2 separate regions of the Homo sapiens genome follow, and region 2 is linked to region 1. The links are contacts of gene promoters, found by promoter capture Hi-C in human tissues and cell types (Jung and others, 2019). All regions are on one chromosome and are shown on one strand. Each heading gives the region's core, a stretch centred on a gene start or on the middle of the fragment in contact. The rest is flanking DNA. Distances are from core to core; before and after follow the strand shown.

The links. The method cuts DNA at HindIII sites, captures the fragments that hold promoters and counts their contacts. A contact is called where the count stands out against the background at its distance.
Region 2: a contact is called between a fragment that was not itself captured here and the fragment with the promoter of CKMT2 in region 1, in 1 of the 25 tissues and cell types used here (mesenchymal stem cells).

What each region holds. Positions count from the first base shown.
Region 1 is chr5:81,228,576-81,236,395 of GRCh38, reverse strand. It overlaps CKMT2 (creatine kinase, mitochondrial 2), which reads right to left and starts at 3,074. Exons shown (of 10, transcript NM_001099735.2): 1 at 3,019-3,074. It overlaps RASGRF2 (Ras protein specific guanine nucleotide releasing factor 2), which reads right to left. Exons shown (of 27, transcript NM_006909.3): 27 at 6,234-7,820. The HindIII fragment of the contact is 7,118 bases long and covers 1-4,925 here.
Region 2 is chr5:81,266,995-81,274,814 of GRCh38, reverse strand. The region is part of intron 1 of CKMT2-AS1 (CKMT2 antisense RNA 1); the gene reads left to right. Among named protein-coding and RNA genes, the nearest start is that of CKMT2-AS1, 31 kb to the left of the region's middle. RefSeq lists enhancers at 3,983-4,533, 4,534-5,086, 5,163-6,362. The HindIII fragment of the contact is 6,048 bases long and covers 1,284-7,331 here.

The sequences.
Region 1 (7,820 bases), core at 1,825-4,324:
CTGGGATTTGAACCCAGGTTTGTCTTTTGCACTGGATTCAGCTTCCTTGCAGACCGCAGCACCTCACATACAGCCCTTCACTGACCAGCAATTGGAGGGAAACCACCCCTGTGGCTTAAAACCTGTGGTGCCACAGATCATTCCACTCAGTCAAACCCCCAAGACCGTAGAAGTGCATTTAACACAGCAGCTCCTAGGCACAGGATTGTCACCTCAGGGCATATGACTTCTAAAGTTGCAGATTATAAACTTGTTCTCTTTCCCTGTCCTCAGGCTCCCGCTGAAGTAACCCAGACGCCAGGGATATCTCTGCCCGCTCCACTCTGACTCTAGTGCTCAATGTGCCTGCCAGGCCTTGCTAGGGATGCTGTGCCAGTGTGAAGAGGAAGGTGGTCTCCAGCTCTCACCCCATAGAAGCTTTCTGCCTCAGTTTCCCTAACCTGGAACACCACAATGACTCCTGAATTGAAAAACACTGCTTACAGCATCTAGGCTAAAATTGGCAGAATACCTGGGCTCCAAGCCAGGGAGATTTGGAGCGATGGGGAGGTGCAAGAGCACAGCCAGACAGAGCCAAAAGCAATAATATCCTGTTTGTTCCTACACTGCCCTCCGCATTAAAAAAACAACGACAGCTACATCAAGCCCTTTTGTTAAGTGGCCACAAGCTGTACATTTCTTGGTCCCAGGCAGGTATACTGGGAGTTCAGATCCTGGTCTTAATGCTCTTCTCTGGTTCTGTGACATCCTAGAATGTGAAGAGGAGGCCTTGGGTTCTGTCACTGCCTCCAGCCCGAGCCCCCTGCTCTTCCTGGGCATCCCGGATGGACCATGTCTGCCTTTCTGCTGACTCAGATTTATTTCTGGTCCAGCCATTCACAGCGTCCATGTGTCTGAACTCCTCAGCCAGAGGGCAGGTGGAAGGGCAGGAGGAGGACCACGTGTCAGCTTTCCATCCAGAGAGCCACCCCAAAACAGAGGATGTCCTTGGGCTTGGACCAGCTCCACAGAACACTCTGAACAAATTCTCACGATGCCAGGCTCCTAGGCCGCAGAAAATGCCTGTCTCCTCCCAGTTCTAAGATAGCAAAGGGTGTGCGTTACCTCAAAACCACTTAGTACGCAGCCAACCTTAATGGGCACTCTTGGCATTACTGTTCTACTCAGCAAATAGACAGTCCTAGGCAGGAAGGAGATATTTAGAATCCTACTCTGTAAAACAGAGGCCTTTCCTAGGCCTCCTGTGATGAAGGCATGGGACCGTTACCAGACTTTGTCCCTCAAGGGTAAATTGTTTTCAAGAAAACAGGAAGCTAGGAGCCATCTAGTCCTTTGAAGTGCTGTGAAGTGGGCTGCCTTCTTCCCCGCCCAAGGGAGGGAGTCTCTGAGGCTTCCTGGCAAGGGTTAGTGTGACCTCCAGCAGTCACCTTCAGCATGGGTTGCTGCTGGATTCCTGGCTCTGTGGGCAGGAGCTCCCAGAATGCTTGACACAGACTCTACGTGGCTTCCTTTGGGAAGACAAATGGAGCCTGCTGTAGGCTATGGCAGAGATGGAGGCCCAGGGCCTCTGAGCTAGGGGCAAAGTCAGTCTCCCTCCTGTGTCTGAAACCCCAGGACTCCCCATTCTGTATGGTACTCCCCCCGACCCAACCCACAGTTTCCTTAGGAAAACTGACCTGCCTATGGCCCATTTCCTAATGATATGATTTGGTCATGAGGCTGGCAGAGTCCATGGGGTGCATGTGGCACTCCTGTGCTTTGCTGTGACAGTGCCTTAACCCACAGGCGTGATTAACTCCAAAGTCTGGGGTCTTTGGAAAAGGTGCCTATCAATGCAGAGGAAGTGAAGTGCTCAGACCGCCAAACAAGGCCAAGAGCCTCCCGGAAGAGCCTGCCTGTCAGGAAGTCTCTGGCCACATGCTGTGGCCATGCTCGCCTCTATGAGAGGACAGAGAGAACAGACCAAGGACACGAGTTCAGAACAGAGAAAATGTGAGAGCCGTAGACAGGAAAAGCAGCCCTTCTGGAAACAGCACACTGGTGTACCTAGCGTAACCTTGTCCTGAGGGCCACTAACTGCCCCTCACTTGACTCAGCTGACACTGTGAGGGGTCACGAGCCTGGCAACACTTTCTGGAAGGTCTAAAGGGCAGCACTGAGGAGACCTAAAGGTTTTGGTCTGTTTGTCAAATGTCACTCTTCCTCACATTCGGAGGAGAGCATTTGAAGGCAGACCACTCTAGGGGCAAGAACAGGACTGATTTTAACCCCGGGACAACCAACCAAGCAAGCAAGCTAGTGAAGAACAGGCCTCTGCCCAGGTGAAACACGTGGGGCCAATTCCATAGGTTTTTTTTTTTTTTTTTTTTTTTTTAATTAACCTCCGGTGGGAAAGGTAAGGATGGTGGGGAGGGGAGACGGTTACTTGTCTCATTATCAATGTGTTAGTATTAGTGACGGCAAAACTGAATCTCTAGCAATACTATTTGCCCGTTTAAACTGGGCCTGGCTATTGGGCTTATGAGCAAATAGCTTCTCAAAATTTTAATTTTCTAGTTAGTTCATCCCAAGTCACTGATTTACATGTCTTTTGAGACTGAGACTGCTGGGGAAAAACATTCCCAGAAATGAGTGGATTAGACTCTGTGAATTACAAGGGAAAGACACTTTAAGTTTAAAGTTGTCCCAAACTTAGCGTCAAAATACAGCCTTTAGATTTTTTTTTCCATCGAGAAAAATTCCTGATTCACTACCAAAAAGAGGCCCTGCAGGCAGCGTGCTGATTTGTTCTGCTCCTGGTGCTGAGCTGCCCCCACCTGTGTGCAGGGAGGAGGGGTCGCTTCGGCCAAGGGCGGGAGCTCTGCTGGCTTTAGCGAGTCACCATTGCCTCCTCGCAGTCAGCGTCCTAACGGGGTCCCCGTCTACAGCCCGGCATCCACTCCTCCAAGGCCCTTCACACTGGCTCTAGCCATGACCCCTCTTTGGAGGAATAAAGCAGAGTTTCACGGACTCACCGACCTTGAAGCCGGAGCCTCCCACGTCCTGCTGAGCGCACACAGCCAAGAAGTGTATGCAGGGCGAGCTGGTCGGGCCGGCCTGGAAATCCTCCCTGGCGGGGCGGGGCCAGAGGACCTCACCAATCCCAGCGTAGACCTCCGGGCGCACCGGCCCCCACAGCTGTACCCTTGAAGGCAGGCCCGTGGGCGCTGGGCCCTTTATAGCACCTGCCCTTTCTCTGAAACGTAAAAGGCGGAGCCAGTCTTGCTTCCCAGGCCTGGTCCTGGAGGCTCCTTTGCCAGGGCTCTGGATCTCAGAATGGAAGGGCCAGCAGGTGAAATTGCACATCTGTTGGGGGATTTGTTTCTCTCTTCTCTCAGGTGTACCAGCCTTGGGGCCCTGGTGAGCTCTGGAGGATGAACCCCTCAAGCCAAGGTCGGAGAGGAGGATGTCTCAAGCTGCCTGGCTCCAGCAGCTGACCGGGCCCTGAGCCAGGGGCTGGAGGGACCTCCTTCCAGCGTCTTTGTCTGGGACCTGGATCCAGGGACAATTACAGTCAGGTTTCTGTTCAAGATCAGGCCCCCTGCAGTAGATGGCTAGATCATCTCGCTTTCTGTCCACACCAGCTTAACCCACGGCAGGCCATAGCCCTGCTTAAAAATAGCCCCGCTTGGGATATCCACCGCACGCCGGGAAGGCTGCCTGTAAATAGCAATGACCCAGCAGGATTTTGGACAGCAGCCCTGCCATTTCAAGGGAGCCTGCCTAGGCATCTGGTGACCGTCACGTACTCAGCTTCTGAGGCCACGTGGACATGACCAATTGGTTCCTGTCTCTTCCTTCTCAGAGCCCAGCTCATGCTCAGAGGACTTGATGGAGCAAGGGGTGGAGCCCCAGGAATAACCTTCTACCCAGTGTGGTTCTCCTTCATTCTCTGAAGGAGTTTCCATTTCTTTTAAACACGACCCATGTTTAAAAATATCATCTATTTTACCTTTGCATGGGGTACTGACAGGGAGAGCACGTGAGGGGGCCTTTTGGCGGGATGGGAAGTTTCCTGATTGGGGTGGTTATATAAAGATTGGGACCAATCAAATTAATTTCATAATCCTTTAAGGAGTCAAGACCCACCAGCTTGCATATTCTATCATCAGGGCAGTCTCGGTTTATTCCTTCTCAAAATAGCTCTTTTCCACACACACTTGTTTCAAGTCAGTTCAGGCACCAACTGAAATAAATCCATTGACCCTGAAATAGCCCAGCTCCCAGATCCAGAAAATTATAAGGCTTTTAAAGAGCATGGAATTGTAGATTTAAAGAATGGCAGTTATAGCAAAAACCTCCTTTTCCTCCCCAATTGCCTAATCAACATTTAGGGCCCCCTCCACTCACCCGACCTCAACACCTTATATTTTATAGAGTAAATGTTTATGTTAGTAAGGTCAGAAGAAAAATTGGGTCATTGTTGAGAAAAGAGGGTACCACCCTTCTTTTGGGGGACTGGTCCTCTTCAAGCTTATTATAAAGGTGGTGTGATGGGGATGAAATCTCTACAAGGGACTCACAGTAGAAATTCTGGCTTTCTGGAAATCTTTCAAATGCCATCCCTGTCACATGGCATCTATTCCCTTCTCATCGTTACCAACTCCTTTTGAAGCTCTGGGGCTCTAGCCACACCAGGCTGCCCTGTGGCTGGCTTCTGCCATAAGGGCAGGAACAGAATTGAAGTGTGCGACTGCCATATCATTTGCTTTAAAGGAAAATGTCCTGGACTTATTCTCTTTTCTGTTCCTGAGTCCAGCAGGAGTGTGGCTAGAGCAGGCCCCAGATTTGACCTCGAAGGCAAGGATGACGCCTTGTGGGATGAGCAAGTAATAGGATGAAAGGAACCTGGGTTCCTCTGTCGCACCAGCCTGGATTGCTCATTTCAGAATTGGGCAGGAGGGACCCCTTTCCTTAGTCTATTCTTGTGTCCAGCAACTGTAACTTAATTCCATCAGCTCTAAATGTTGCCACAACTTCATAGAAGTTAAAGTATTTTCATATATAGTAATCCATATAACCACTGCAGTTATTTTAGGGGTAGACAGGAGTCTTATTTCAGAAGCCCCTCCTAGGTGGAGCCTGGTGACTATTAGGCCAGGACTCTACCCTGGCGGCTTCTCCTCTCTCCACCACCCATTCAGGAGCGTTGAGCTGCTGTGCAATGGACTGAGCTGTTCCAGGTAGTAGTGAGTTCTCTGTGCCTGGAGGTATCAAATATAGGCTGGGGATGTCACAGGAAGAATCTAAGCACTGCAAAGAAAGTGTGATTAGTTGATCCTTCGTATCATTTCAAAGCTTTCCCCAAATTCTTTGAATTTTAGGGCCTCTTCTAAACTGTTTTTCTCCCTGAACTTTAGAAGTAATATTTAGAAGTAAATAATATATCTGAAGGAGTTCACTGCTATGAAGAAGATGTAAAATAAAAATAAAGCCCCTAGGCCCCCAAGCAAAACAAAACAGACTCATTGTGGTAAAAAGAGACCCCAGGAAACATTAAAAACCAGATTCTACAGCTTTGGCAAGGCAAGAGGTCAGTCACACCCAACGCTCTCCCACCTCGATAACTGCCTCAAGACTTTCTTTCCTAAAATTAAACTAAAACCAGTTACTGAAAAACTATGTCTGGAAGATTTCTTCCTCAACTTCAACAGACAACCTGACGTGGCGAACCCCCCCTTCCCTCAACGCAGTTTCCCCCTGACAAGTGTTCAGCCTTACAAAGCACTCCATCCTCATAACTGACCACAGACCACAGCCGGTTCTGGCCGGTTTACAGAGATTGCACACCAAGCGTCTTTGTGCCCTGTGTTCCATCTTTTGACATATAGAGCCCAATTTTACTACATTTTAAGTCTCCATCCCAAAGTGAACATGGGTTGTATGTAACATGTAACATATATGATTACTGGCTATGCATGCATTAGGGCCTCTCATAAATATTCATAAGATTATCCTATAACCTACTAAATGTATATGTAAGGCTCATCTTGTTGGGCATAAATCTCAGCCTCTCCCTTTTTTATCTGAAGTGCTTGCTTTTGGCTTTGGCCAGAGGCTCCAGCCTGCAGATTGTAACCCTTTATAAGAAATTAAGTTCTATTTTTTCTAAATGTATACATTTCATGGTTTTAAGTTGACAATGTAGAAAAATGGGGGGAAAAAGAGTTAAATGAAGAAACCAGTGAGATTTCTGAATATTCAAGAAAGGTGAAGTTTAATTTGCATATAGGCATAACCTACACCTCACTTGGCAAGTGTTAGGCCACAGCACAAACCCCTCTGTCCAATCACAAATGTCCACAAATTTGCAAAGTAACTGGACACGAACGATATGCTTCTCAAACTCACACACATATTCGTCCATCACACACACACTCAAATGATAAAGAAATACATTGAAATCCTCTACAAAAGAGATCTGAGGACAGTAATCAGATGACCTCATGTGCGGACAGCACTTTGCAGTTTACAGTCTAATCCATTTGGTCCTCACAATAGCCCTGTGAGATAAGCAGCACAGGGATTACTATTCACACCGTTTTGCAGATGAGGAAACTGAGGCTCAGGGATGTGTAAACACCAGCCTAAGGTTTTCCAGTTGGAGACTGGGCCTAGGACTCAGGGCCGGGATGCCTAGGCCAGCTCTCTTTCATAACTGGCTTTCTAGTGAAAAATGAAATGAGCTGTGTAAAAACCAACATCATTAAGTATAATAGAACTATTATTTTCCTTGAGCAGATCAGACTAGTGCTATCAATCCTAATGTTAATGTCATGCTGCATGGCAGCTGAGATGAATAATTTTCTGAATCGTTCATGTGTTTATACCTACAACAAAATGACTGTTTTCCATTTTGGCTCTGCCTCATCTTAATTTTAAGTCACCAATGGCCGCTGAGAAATGACACACTGATTAGATTTCATTGACTTAAGTCTTCTATTACACGGTGGTATCTATAATGGAGCCATTAAACTTACAATCTGATTTCTTACTGAAATGAAAAAGAGTTTTATTTATTGATTCCCTCTGTGCACATTAGCCTGGCTATACCCTTCAGCCATAAATAGTATGTTCTCTTTTATGCCTTTTCGATAGTTGTAAAAATAATACATTTTGCAATTGGATTTTTAAAAACCTTTATACTTTAAAGTGAAGAGATTTTTTTTCAAGGGGATAAAATCAAACTTTGAAAAAAAAAAGCTAAGTAAAATCTCTTGCTTTTAAATAAAAGTTAATTTTATTGGGAATAATCCCTGTATTGCATTACTCTTTTCAGTTAAGAATTTAAAAGCTGCCCAATCGCTGCTGGCCCAAAAGTCTCGTCTTATACAATAACATGAGAGAAAGGGTGCTGATCCATCATTATTCACTCCACATGGGACCATAATGGATTTTTCTCTTCCAGGTGATTCAGTTTCTCTGAGTTTCATTTGTTTATAAGTAGTACTTTAAGACGTACTGAAATTTAACAAACAGTAATGGGACTTGGTATGAGAGCCACTTGAAAATATTGCAATGGCCGTTTAAAATTCCGTCTTTAAATTCCTTCAGAAAAGCACTAAGGAAAAGTGACGACGTTTTACTTCATGCCTGAATCTGTCAAATAATATATTGGATTAGGTAAGAGATTTGTCCCTGTAGCAAAACTAGATGTCTCAGTTAATAACGAAAAGGCATCCCCTAAAAGCTCCAAGATAATTTCGTTGACAGTACAAAATGTGGGCATTCATTCGAAAGCATGAAATTGGATTTTTCTTCTGATTTTCTAGGTTAATTTT
Region 2 (7,820 bases), core at 3,058-5,557, 37 kb before region 1:
TGGTCATTTTCACAATGTTGATTCTATACATCCATGAGCATGGGATGTGTTTCCATTTGTGTGTGTCATCTATGATTTTTTTCAGTAGTGTTTTGTAGTTTTCCTTGTAGAGGTCTTTTACCTCCTTGGTTAGGTATATTCCTCAGTGGTTTTTGTTTGAGGTGTGTGTGTGTGTGTGTGTGTGTGTGTGTGTGTGTGTAGCTATTGTGAAAGTGGTTGAGTTCTTGATTGATTGTCAGTTTGGTCACTGTTGCAGTATAGCAGTGCTACTGATTTGTGTACATTAATTTTGTATCCTGAAACTTCGCTGAATTCATTTTTTAGTTCCAGAGCTTTTTGGAGGATTCTTTAGGGTTTTCTAGGTGTATGATCTTATCATCAGCAAACAGCGACAGTGTGACTTCTTCTTTACCAATTTGGATGCCCTTTATTTTTTCTCTTGTCTGATTGCTCTGGCTAGGACTTTCAGTACTGTGTTGACTAGAAGTGGTGAAAGTGGACATTCTTGTCTTGTTCCAGGGGGAATGCTTTCAACATTTTCCACTTCAGTATAATACTGGTTGTGGGTTTGTAGTAGATGGCTTTTATTACCTTAAGGTATGTCCCTTCTATGCCAATTTTGCTGAGGGCTTTCATCATAGAAGGATGCTGGATTTTGTCAAATGCTTTTTCTGCATCTATTGAGATGATCATGTGATTTTTGTTTTTAATTCTGTTTATGTGGTGTATCACATTTATTGACTTGTGGATGTTAAACCATCCCTGCATCCTTGGTATGAAACCCACTTGATATGGTGGATTATCTTTTTGATATACTGTTGGATTTGGTTAGCTAGTATTTTGCTGAGGATTTTTGCATCTGTGTTCCTCAGGGAAATTGATCTGTAGTTTTCTTTTTTTGTTATGTCCTTTCCTGGATTTGGTATTAGGGTGATACTGGCTTCACAGAAAGATTTACGGAGGATTCTCTCTTTCTCTATCTTTTGGAATAGTGTCAATAGGATTGGTACCAATCCTTCTTTGAATATCTGATAGAATTCAGCTGTGAATCCATCTGGTCCTGGTTTTGTTGGTCTGTTCAGTTTGTGTTTCTTCCGGGTTTAATCTAGGAGGGTTGTATATTTCCAGGAACTTATCCATCTCCTCTAGGTTTTCTAGTTTACGCACATAAATGTGTTCTAGTAGCCTTGAATGATCTTTTGTATTTCTGTGGTATTGGTTGTAATATCTCCTGTTTCATTTCTAATGGAGCTTATTTGGATCTTCTCCCCTTTTCTTGGTTAGTCTTGCTAGTGGTCTATCAATTTTATTTATTTTTTCAAAGAAACAGCTTTTTGTTTCATTTATTTTATGTATTTTTGTTTGTTTCAGTATCATTTACTTCTGCTCTGACCTTTGTTATTTCTTTTTTTCTTTTTCTTTTTTTCTTTGAGATGGAGCCTTGCACTGTCCCCTGGGCTGGAGTGCAATGGCGTGATCTTGGCTCACTGCAACCTCCGCCTCCCAAGTTCAAGCGATTCTCCTGCCTCAGCCTCTCCAGTAGCTGGGATTACAGGTGCCTGCCACCATGCCCGGCTAGTTTTGTTTTTTGTTTGTTTGTTTGTTTTGTATTTTTAGCAGAGCTGGAGTTTAACCATGTTGGCCAGGCTGGTCTCGAACTCCTGACCTCATGATCCACCCACCTCAGCCTCCCACAGTGCTGGGACTACAGGTGTGAGCCACTGTGCCTGGTCGATCTCTGTTATTTCTTTTCTTCTGCTGGGTTTGGGTTTGTTCTTGTTTCTCTAGTTCCTTGAGGTGTGACCTGAGATTGTCCATTTGTGCTCTTTCAGACTTTTCGATGTAGACATTTAATGGTATGAACTTTCTCTTAGCACTGCCTTTGCTGTATCCCAGAGGTTTTGATGGATTGTGTCACTATTATTCAGTTCAAAGATTTTTTCAATTTTCATCTTGATTTCAGATTTCATTGTTGATCCAAGAATCATTCCAGGAGCAGATTATTTAATTTCCATGTATTTGCATCGTTTTGAGGGTTTCTTTTGGAGTTGATTTCCACTTTTATTCCACTATGGTCTGACAGAGTACTTGATATAATTTCGATTTTCTTAAATTTATTGAGACTTGTTTTGTGGCCTATCGTATGGTCTGTCTTGGAGAATATCCCATGTGCTGATGAATAGAATGTATATTCTATATTTGTTGGGTAGAATGTTCTGTAAATATCTTGTTAAGTCCGTTTGTTGTAGTTTATAGCTTAAGTACATTGTTTCTTTGTTGACTTTCTATCTTGATGACCTGTCTAGTGCTGTCTGTGGAGTATTGAAGTCTCCCACTATTATTATGTTGCTGTCTATCTCATTTCTTAGGTCTAGCAGTAATTGTTTTATAAATTTGGGAGCTCCAGTGTTAGGTGCAAATATGTTTAGAATTGTGATATTTTCCTATTGGACAGGTCCTTTTATCATTATATAATGTCCCTCTTTGTCTTTTTTAACTGCTGTTGCTTTAAAATTTGTTTTGTCTGATATAAGAATAGCTACTCCTGCTTGCTTTTGATGTTTGCGTGGAATATGTTTTTCCCACTCCTTTACCTTAAGTTTATGTGAGTTCTTATGTGTTAGGTGAATCTCTTGAAGACAGTGGATACTTGGTTGGTGAATTCATAACAATTCTGCCATTCTGTATCTTTTAAGTGGAGGATTTAGGCCGTTTACATTCAAAGTTAGTATTGAGATGTGAGGTACTATTCTATTCATCGTGGTATTTGTTGCCTGAATACCTGGGTTTTTTTGTTTTTTTTTTTCATTGCAATCTTGTTTTATAGGTCCTGTGAAATTTATGCTTTAAGGAGGTTCTATTTTGATGTATTTCAAGGATTTGCTTCAAGATTTAGAGCTCCTTTTAACAGTTCTTGTAGTGCTGGGTTGGTAGTGGCAAATTATCTCAGCATTTGTTTGTTTGAAAAAGACTGTCTTTCATTTAGGAAGCTTATACAAAATTCTTGGCTGATAATTGTTTTGTTTAAGGAGGCTAAAGATAGGACCCCAATCCCTTGCTGCTACTCTGATAGGTTTTCCCTTATAGGTTACCTGATGCTTTTGCCTCACAGCTCTTAAGATTTCTTCCTTCGTCTTGACTTAGGTAACCTGATGACTCTGTGCCTAGGCAATGATCTTTCTAAAATGAATTTCCCAGGTGTTCTTTGAGCTTCTTGTATTTGGGTGTCTAGATCTCTAGCAAGGCAGGGGAAGTTTTTCCTTGATTATTTCCTCAAATATGTTTTCTAAACTTTTAGATTTATCTTCTTCCTCAGGAATACCAAGTATTCTTAGGTTTGGTTGTTTAACATAATCCCAAACTTCTTGGAGGCTTTGTTCATTTTTTAAAATTCTCTTTTGTTTGTCTGTGTTGGATTGGGTTAATTCAAAAGCCTTGTCTTTGAGCTCTGAAGTTCTTTCTTCTATTTGTTTGATTCTATTGCTGAGACTTTCCATTGTATTTTGTATTTCTCTAAGTGCATCCTTCATTTCCAGGAGTTGTGATTGTTTTTTATTTATGGTACTTCTCTGGAGATTTTCTCATCCATATCCTGTAACATTTTAAAAATTTCTTTAAGTTGGTATTCACCTTTCTCTGGTGTCTCCTTGAGTAGCTTAATAATCGACCTTCTGAATTATTTTTCTGGCAATTCAGAGATTTCTTTTTGGTTTGGATTCATTGCTGGTGAGCTAGTGTGATCTTTTGGGAGTATTAAGAACCTTGTTTTATCATATTACCAGGATTGTTTTTCTGGTTCCTTCTCATTTGTGTAGACTATGTCAGAGGGAAGATTTGGGGCTGAAGGCTGCTATTCAGATTCTTTTGTCCCACAGGGTGCTCCCTTGATGTGGTGCTCTCCCTCTTCCCTTAGGGATGTGGCTTCCTGAGAGGCAAACTGCAGTGACTGTTATTTCTCTTCTGGATCTAGCCACCCAGCAGAGCTAATAGGCTCTAGCCTGGTACTGGGGAGTGTCTGCAAAGAGTCCTGTGATGTGATCTGTCTTCAGATCTCTCAGCCATGGATACCAGCACCTGCTCTGGTGGAGGTAGCAGGGGGTGAAATGGACTCTGTGAGGGTCCTTGGTTGTATTTTTGTTTAGTGTGCTAGTTTTGTGTTGATTGGCCTCTAGCCAGGAGGTGGCACTTTCAAGAGAGCATCAGCTGCAGTAGTATAGGGAGAACCAGGCAGTGGGCGGGGCCATAGAGCTCCCAAGAGATTATGTCCTTTGTGTTTGGCTACCAGGGCAGATAGAGAAAGACCATCAGGTGGGGGCAGGGTTAGGTGTGTCTGAGCTCAGACTTTCCTTGGGTGGGGGTTGCTGCAGCTGCTGTGGGGTACGGGGGTGTGGTTCTCAGGCCAATGAAGTTATGTTTCCAGGAGGATTATGGCTGCCTTTGCTTTGTCGTGCATGTTACCGGGGAAGTGGGGGAAAGCTGGCAGTTACAGGCGTTACCAGCTCCCATGCAACCCAAGAGGCCCGGTTGCCCCATCCCCAGCTGCGCTGTTTATTTCCAGGCAGCGGGTGAGTAGGGCTGAGAACTTGCCGCAGGCTCCATGCCTCCCGACTGAGGAAGCAAGCAAGGCTTTCAGATTTCATGCCTCCCTGCCTGCCACAGCTTCTGTGCTTGTATCTGCACTGCCTGTTTGTCCCCTCCCCAGGTTCTATCCAGGAGACTTTGTGTTTGGTCAAAATTGTTACAAAGTTCAGCTGGAAATTTCCTTCTCCTTGTGGTCTTTCCCCAATTTCACTGGCAGCCCTCCCCAAGGATACCTGAGAGACAGAGTCAGAAATGGCTTCCCTGGGGATGGAAAGTTACTCACAGGGCTCTTCCTGTTGCTTCCCCTACCCCTGTATTTGGCTCAGCTCTCTAAATTTGTCTCAGCTCCCAGGCAAGGTCAAATTCTTCTGTGATCTGGACCTTCAGGTTCCCCAATGAAGATGTGTGTTTGGGGGCAAATGATCCCCCTTTCACACTTTCACACCTTGGGCACTCACAGTTTTCTGGCTGTCTCCCAGAGCCTGCAGCCTGCCTGTTTGTGTACTGGGTTCTAATGTAAAATATATTTCTTCCCATAGGTTACAGTAAAAGGAAAAAAAAAAAAGTCACTGCCTTATTTAATCATCATAAAAACTTCATAAGGCAGGAATTCTCTCCATTTTACAAATGAAACCAAGACTATTGAGTTAAATAATTTACCTTTGGTCATGTAGCTGGTTAGTGGTTGAGCCTGAATTTCATGCAAATTTTTTGACCTCAAAATAACTTCTTTTTGGGCTGGGCACAGTGGCTCATGCCTGTTATCCCAGCACTTTGGGAGGCCAAGGCCGGAGGATTGCTTGTGTCCAAGAGTTCAAGACCAGCCTGGGCAACATAGTAAGACCCTGTCTCCACAAAAAAATTAAAAATTAGCTGGGCATGGTGGTGTGTGCCTGTCATCACAGCTACTCAGGAGGCTGAGGTGGGAGGATCGCTTGAGCTTGGGAGTTTGAGCCATGATCGTGCCACTTCATCAGCCTGGGTGACAGAGTGAGACTTTGTCTCAAGGAAAAAAAAAAATTATTTTGGCTTCTTTCAGAACGTTCAGACATGCTCTTTTATGATATTTGGCCTGAGGGGAGAGTAGCTCAGTCTCCATAAGCCAACTTACTGTGGAAGCTCAGAAGTCAAGGAGAACACCCCTGTTTCTCTTCCCCTGTGGAAGAGAGCCAGAATGATTTTTCAGCCATCAAAGCTTTCTCATTGCATCTGCCTCTGATGTAAGGAATGCAGCAAATTTTAAAAGGCCTATGACTCAGAACCATGCTCTGTTCATATGACTGTTTGATGAATACTGATTGAACTAGACTTTAGTAAACAGGAACTATTTGCATGCTATATGACTCCCTTGGCTGGAAGATATGGTATTCAATTAGCATTTTAATTAATAATTAAAAGTCCCTTTATCTCTTCCAATGGACTCATCTTATAAAAGGTGTTATTTTGACTGTAATATTGCCAATGTGCTTGTTTCTTGTGGCAAAATTAAAACTTATCACAACTTCTGCAAACAGGATGAGATCACTCAAATGCTTGTCAGTGCTTGAGGAGAAAGCATATTCTTGTATCCTATTTAAGTGCTATTACATAATCTGAAAATTGGTTGAAGACCTATCAGGAAAAGATAGTTGATGAATATGGAGGATTTCGAAGAAAAGTGAGGTGCCAGATCGAGTGTTGAGGAATCCATTGTAGACTTGGTTTAAATGACTGTCTTTGGTTATGAATATTGTTTCTAAAGAGTAAAGTCACATGAGTACATTCCTGGTAATATACCAGAGGTCAAACAGCCCAACAAATGAAGAGTTTGAAATGTAGATAATTTAAAGATGAAGTACTAGCAGTCTGTAAGCAAGCCAGTATTGAAAGCGAACGTCACTGAGGTTATTGATGAATTAAAACTAATGGATAGGGGTGAGAAATAAATTAGATAAAAATGCAGCACCAAAAAGGAGAGAGATGTTATCTGGAATTCACTGTCCCTTACATATTTAGTTAATTCTTGTTGATGTTGCTGTTGCTTTAGATGTTGTGGTATAGATTACAAGACTTAGTATGTCAGTAGCCCTATACTTTATGATAATACTTGTTTTTTTCAGCTTTTCTTAAATGAAATGTTGGTATATACATCTGTCTAGTCTGTTCAGCCCACTTATGCTTATGAGCATAATGCTTATTTAGCAATGTGAATTTGCTTCCATTTACCACTTAGCTCATAAGGTCTTTCAGAAGAGGGACCATGAGTCCTGTTGGCTTGCCCTAAAAGATAGTGTTGTTAAGGCATATTCACAGATGGATCATTATATGATTATAATACTGATTTATTTATTTAGCAAATGCCTACATAATACTGTGCATTGAACACTGGTAAGTAAACTTTCATATACTAATTAATTTCATCCTCCCAACAACCCAATGCAATAGGTATAATCATTGTTTTCATTTTATCTAGAGGAAACTGAGGAACCTAGAGATTAAGTAACTCAATGTCATATAATTGGAGAATTGGGACTTGTACCCCAGCAATGCAGCTGTAGAGTCGGTGTGCTTATCATGACACCAGCCTTCTCTACCCTTTCTCTAACCCAAGAGTATCAACCACTGCCTGAGGTTGTGATCCTCCCTTTTGCCAGGCGTTTGTTGGAGGAACAGCCCTTCACCCTCTACCATTTGGGGTACTGAGCATGATGTTCCAAATTATATTGGTATGGTTTCCTCTTTCTGAATTTCTACCATATACCAGTTAGAGTAGTGCATATTAGCACCAGCACAATTGTAATCTTCTTATACTTTTTTTCAATATAGCAGGAGGGAATACAAATGCATACACTAAAGCACCAGTTTAACTGTAGCACCTGCAGTGCTCACTTACTATAGGGTGCATAACTTGATCTCATTTCTATTAAAAAGTATTTATCTTTTTTGTGTGGAGCTGTTTCCTAACTTGTTACACAATTAATTGCTCCCACCTACTCTATTGTGTTCCTTCAGGCTATAGACATCACAGGATAGACAGAAAATAACAAGATTCAAGGTAACAATCTGCATGCTGAAGGAAGAATTCTGCTTTCAGACTATGCTAAAAACATTTTCAGTATTTCAGACATCAAATTTTGAATTGTTTTTGAGAGACTGAGTATACAGAGACAATGGCTAGACCACAGGACAACAGAACTCTCACCCACAACCTCTAAAGCAACCGTTCTAGGAGACCAAACCCTAACCTCTGTAACAATCAG